Linked DNA regions of Homo sapiens: region 2 is linked to region 1. The links are contacts of gene promoters, found by promoter capture Hi-C in blood cells and fetal thymus (Javierre and others, 2016). All regions are on one chromosome and are shown on one strand. Each heading gives the region's core, a stretch centred on a gene start or on the middle of the fragment in contact. The rest is flanking DNA. Distances are from core to core; before and after follow the strand shown.

Region 1 (2,936 bases), core at 327-2,826:
GTGAACTCAGCAAAGGGATCATGAAAACAGATTTTCTCTTATGTTACTTGTAGAAAGCTTTTAGATTTATCATTGAAAATTGCGAATTTTGAACCATATCCATTTTGACTTAATTGTATTTTAAAACAGTGGTTCTCAAAAAAGTGTGGTTCCGGGACCAACATCATCAGCATCGTGGGAACTTGTTAGAAACACAAATCCTTGGGCCTCACCACTGAACTAATGACTTAGAACAGGGGTTGGACTGGGGAATTCTGTGTTTTAACAAGTCCTCCAGGTGATTCTGACGCATGCCAGTTTGAGAATCACTTTTTTAAACCAATGTTTAAGTCCAATCTAACCTACTTAACTATTAACAGTCTACCTGGCTATCTACCTGTGGTAGTGTAGTATGTAACAGCCCACAGCACACATGCTCAATTCCAAGCCTATCTGCTCTCCGCAATCAGTATATTCCTCCTGCAATTTATCATGGTATGAAAGGCCCAGTGATACACATATTTGGTCATTTTCAAATAGTGCCTGCCAGCATAGTGGCTCACACCAGTCATCCCAGCACTTTGGTAGGGTGAGGCGAGATGATCATTTGAGCTCAGGAGTTTGAGAACAGCCCGGACAACATGGCGAAACCCCATTTCTACAAAAAAAAAAAAAAAATTAGCCAGCGGTAGTGGCGTGCTACTTGGGAGGCTGAGGTGGGAGGATCCCCTGACCCCTGGAAAGTGGAGACTGCAGTGAGCCATGACTGCACCACTGCACTCCAGTCTGGGCGACAGAGACAGACCCTGTCTGAAAAAAAAGTGCCCTTCACAGAAGCTTCCTCAGGGTATTAGCATGAGCATGTGAAAGTACAGTATGTTTATCAAACACATAAAATAAGCAGTTATAAATAACGTCAGAATAACACAAGGAGGCCAATTATCAAAATGAAAGGCTAGTTTTGCATGCTGTGCTTTGCGGAGAGAAGGAAGAGGGAGTTTTCATGTTATTACACTTTTGATAGCAGAATCCTATATTTTGGTGCAGAGGTGGCAAAATAAGGCGGGGGGTGCTGGTGCGCAGAAGCTGACAAGGTTAGAATGTGCAGCGTTTTTACGACGGACTGGCTTTACTCATTTCCTGCCTCACTTCTCTCCTATCTGTATAGGTTTTTCTTTTCGTCCTCCTCTACCAGTACGCTCCCGCCTGCCGCGCTCCGCCCTTGTGCGGCGCACGATCGGAGTCAGTGATTAAGCCGGCTCCAAGACAAAGCGGAGGCCGAGCCCAGGAAGCAAGCGCGCTCTCCGCCCCGCCTGGAGGGAGGGCCCAACCACAGCACAGCCGCGCTCACTCCTCACCCGGACGTGACCTAGTTCTCACAGAGGCCCGGCCTCTTCCGCCACAACTCCGGCCCGCGGTCCCGCCCCGTTCCGTGAATGGTCGGCCGGCCTCAGGTCAAAAAAGCGTTTAGGTGTCTGCGACGGAGCCTCCGGAGAAAGGCAAGCACGTCGCAGCCAATGAGGTGATAGAAACGCAAAGCAGCGACCAATGACTAGCTGAGTTGGGCTGGGCCGGCCGACGAATCACGAGGCTTCGCACCCGGATATGGTTATGGGCTCGGAAATCTAGTTCGGGAAAAGTGTGAGGGGCTCTTCACGTGGGGAAGGAACAGCAGGCGCGGAGGAGGGGGCAAGCGTGTGTGAGATTCAGTGGTCCATGCGTGCGTTTGTCGTGTAAGGGTCATTCCTGGGGTTTGGAGTGGGGGAACAAATCAATGTGGCTGTTTTTCCGTGGAAAGAATTCCCACTGCAGTGTCCCGGAGCCTGCGTGTGGTGGGCAAGCTCCTCAAATGGTATCTCACAGGGAATAGGGGAGTCTTGAAAACGCAGCTTCGGCAGTAGGAACATGAACCTCTTACCTAAAAGTTCCAGGGAGTTTGGCTCCGTTGACTATTGGGAGAAGTTCTTCCAGCAGCGAGGAAAGAAAGCTTTCGAGTGGTATGGAACCTACCTGGAACTGTGCGGGGTGCTACATAAATATATCAAGCCCAGGGAAAAGGTGAGGAGCGCGGGTTGGTAGCCCTTCGTACGTGCTCCGGAAGGTGGGAACTGGTAACAGGAATCTTGCACTTGGTGGACAGTGACAGGCGGGAGGACCCTAGTTGGACGCATATTTCAGCATTTCCTGCATTGTTCCTGCTAAAAGACAAACTAGAATATTCTTTCAGGCCGGGCGCAGTGGCTCACACCTGTAATCCGAACACTTTGGGAGACCGAGGTGGGAGGATCGCTTGAGCCCTGGAGTTAAAGACCAGCCTGGGGAACATGAGACCTCGTCTCTACAAAAAATGAAAAAATTAGCCGGGCGTGGTGGCGCGCATCTGTATTTCCAGCTACTCGGGAGGCTTAGGCGGGAGGATCGCTTGAGCCCAGGAGGTCGAGGCTGCAGTGAGCCATGATCACGCCACTGCACTCCAGCCTGGGTGACAGAGTGAGACCCTGTCTAAAAAAAAAAACATTTCTTTAAAGGTTTTCAGATAATAGACCTCCCACCCCAGCTCATTCTTGGATTAATAACCCTACTTGAAGAGTGACTTCCCATCTTGAAAGTATGTTCTTCTGTCACTGTGCATTCCTGTGCAACCTGCAGCAGGTGTGACTTTGTGTATGAATTTGTTTTTCAAATAGTCGTTGAGTGCGCCCCAAGTTTCAGGCACTGCTCAGTCCTTAAACTATAAGAGCATTAAGACGTAAACCCTGCACATGTTCCAGAAGTGAAACGTGATAAGTACAACAATGGGTTTGGTATAGGTGAGATTGTACTGGAGGTAGGGAAGGAGGAAGGTAGAAAACTTAACATTTGTGGGGAAGCTTTATGTGCCAAGCCTTATGTTGGGTGCTGTGTATGTGCATGTGCAATCTTTGAATTCTCATCATAAATTCAGGTGAGTGGCCATG
Region 2 (2,936 bases), core at 160-2,659, 2.1 Mb after region 1:
TAGGTGTGAAAGATGGTTCTTTGTTGAAATAATATAGTGGTTTAGTGTTTTCAAATCATGTTTCTCATACCCAGATAGTAGATTATTCACTTAGGACAGAGGTAATCAAATTATGTGTGAAATGTAGGAAAATGCTTGCCCCTGTAAACTAGTGAGTTGATGGAGCATTTGCTTCATCATCCTCATCAAGAGAATCATATAAATTAAGCTTTATAATGACATTTCAACCATCAACATAATATAGTGAGGAGTAGCATAATATTTTTTAATAATGCAGAAAACATCACTGAAATGAGAGTCACAAATTTTTCTTCAGTGTTTCAGCCTGAGTAAGTTACATAAACCTCGCTTAGCCTCCCTTCCTGCTAATGTGTAAAATACATACTTGCCCTGGCTACCTCACCGGGCTGTTATTGCTGGAATCAGAGGAGATAACATATATGGAAGATAAAGTGAATAAAAGTACTTTGAAAAACTATAAAGCATTCCACAAATATGAGATGATGGTATTATCCATCCATAAATAGGTAGATATATCTCTATTTTATAGTTTCAGATTAAACAAAACTGATATCAATAGTAAAAGTCATTTTACTTATCAATTTTCTGTTTTTTTTTTTAGTTTTAAAGATATTATTGGCCGGGAGTGGTGGCTCACACCTGTAATCCCAGCACTTTGGGAGATTGAGGTGGGTGGATCACTTGAGGTCAGGAGTTCAACACCAGCCTGGCCAACATAGTGAAACCGTCTCTACTAAAAACACAAAAATTAGCCAGGCATGGTGGCGCATGCCTGTAATCGCAGCCACTCGGGAGGCTGAGGCATGAGGTTTGCTTGAACCTGGGAGATGGAGGTTGCAGTGAGCCAAGATGGTGCCATTACACTCCAGCCTGGGTGACAGAGCAAGACTCCATCTCAAAAAAAAAAAGACAACAAAGATATTATTAATCACTGAACACTATTTTCTCTCAATTATAAGTAATTGAAAATTCTAATCAACCTTAGATTAACCTCAAATGTGCGAAAAAGTGAACACCAAAACTCATTGTGATTTTAAGTTCTAATCATACACATAAAAGTTTTAATAAACTAATAATTATAAAATGAGGCCGGGTACAGTGGCTCACGCCTATAATCCCAGCACTTTGGGAGGCTGAGGCAGACAGATCACAAGGTCAAGAGACTGAGACCATCCTGGCCAACATGGTGAAACCCCATCTCTACTAAAAATACAAAAATTAGCTGGGTGTGGTGGCACATACCTGTAGTCCCAGCTACTCAGGAGGCTGAGGCAGGAGAATCACTTGAACCCAGGAGGTGGAGATTGCAGTGAGCCGAGGTTACACCACTGCACTCCAGCCTGGCAACAGAACAAGACTCCATTTCAAAAAAAGACAAAATGAGAACAAGGTCTTGATCAGTGATTTTGAAATTGTTTTCTTCTACTCAGTCTTCACTTCTGCCTTGAAATTCTTTTGATTTATACCTTTTTTTTTTTTGAGACAGAGTCTCGCTCTTTTGCCCAGGTTAGAGTGCAGTGGCACCATCTTGGCTCACTGCAACCTCCACCTCCTGGGTTCAAGTGATTCTCCTGCCTCAGCCTCCTATTTAATTAATTAATAATTGATTTAATGATTTAGTTTAAAATGTTAAATTCATTTTAAAATAACCCATTACATGTTAACACAAATAGCATGTTTTTATTTTATTTTATTTTGAGACAGAGTCTCACTCTGTTGCCCAGGCTGGAGTGCAATGGTGCGATCTTGGCTCACTTCATCCTCCACCTCCCGGGTTCAGGCAGTTTTCCTGCCTCAGCCTCCTGAGTAGTTGGGACCACAGGTGCCCTCCACCACACCTGGTTAATTTTTGTATTTTTAGTAGAGACGAGGTTTTGCCATGTTGACCAGGCTGGTCTCAAGCTCCTGGCCTCAGGTGATCCGCCTGCCTCAGCCTCCCAAAGTTCTGGGATTACAAAGGCGTGAGCCACCACACTCAGCCATGTTTTTATTTTAAAAATAATTATTTTCAAAAAAAAAATAGAAGAGTAACATTGTTTTATATTTCTGCAAATATTTTTTATTTCTGGCTTAATAGAAGACACTAGATTCTGATATCTGCTTCTGTATCCTATCTGTTGTTATATGCTGTTTTGGTTGAAGTCTGTGAAGAAAATCTGACCCCACTCATATATAAAGTTGGAAAAGGGAGGAGTATTTTAATAGCTTTGTCTGATAATTATGGATACTCTCTTTGATACCACACCAAAATATGACAAGTAGTAGAGTTCCTTAAAGGCTAGTTGCAATGTGGATTCTGAAATCGTATTGATGAGCTTTTCTAAAGTCCATTGGTGTACCTTGTATTTAAATAGAACTTTTACCTATGTGTGATATTTGTAACACCAGTCCAGTGATTGATCATTTGGAAAATATTGGTTCACTGAGTTATGCAAATCTTCCAAATGTTGACACATTTTGATATACAATATCTAAAACAAAATACCATTAATTAATATTACCACCAATCCCATTACAAAAGTCTAAGTCTGAGGAAGCTATAAGGGCACAGAAGTGTATACAAGCCTTCCAAAATTTTAGGTTTCATTTGGAAGCTTGAGTTTTATCATTGGCAACAAATGCCATCAGTTTTTTCCAAGCTGACTTGTTCTTTTTTGAGCAAATCTCTGCCAAAATTACCCCTAAAATATGAATAATCAATTTGTCAGGTTTTTTCAAACTAAAAATGTTCTGTGAAAACAAGCAGCTAGTTCAGCTTGTATCTCAAACAATTGTAACTACTTTTTCTAGGGAAAAAAAAATCTAGACATCCATACTTTATGGCAGATGTGCTTCATGCATACTTCCCATTTTGTCACACAGAATATCAAAATAACGTGTACTCAAGGTCAAGATTTACTAACAACTAAAATTCC

Evidence for each region. The method cuts DNA at HindIII sites, captures the fragments that hold promoters and counts their contacts. A CHiCAGO score of 5 or more calls a contact.
Region 2: a contact is called between a fragment that was not itself captured here and the fragment with the promoter of METTL13 in region 1, in 3 of 17 cell types (total CD8 T cells, non-activated CD4 T cells and naive CD8 T cells). The highest score is 7.7, in total CD8 T cells.

Annotation. Positions count from the first base shown.
Region 1 is chr1:171,780,084-171,783,019 of GRCh38, forward strand. METTL13 (methyltransferase 13, eEF1A N-terminus and K55) reads left to right here and starts at 1,577. Exons shown (of 8, transcript NM_015935.5): 1 at 1,577-2,037. The coding sequence starts at 1,885. RefSeq lists enhancers at 1,266-1,560, 1,390-1,923. The HindIII fragment of the contact is 1,150 bases long and covers 815-1,964 here.
Region 2 is chr1:173,857,945-173,860,880 of GRCh38, forward strand. DARS2 (aspartyl-tRNA synthetase 2, mitochondrial) reads left to right here. Exons shown (of 17, transcript NM_018122.5): 17 at 1-602. Among named protein-coding and RNA genes, the nearest start is that of GAS5-AS1, 3.8 kb to the right of the region's middle. The HindIII fragment of the contact is 2,407 bases long and covers 207-2,613 here.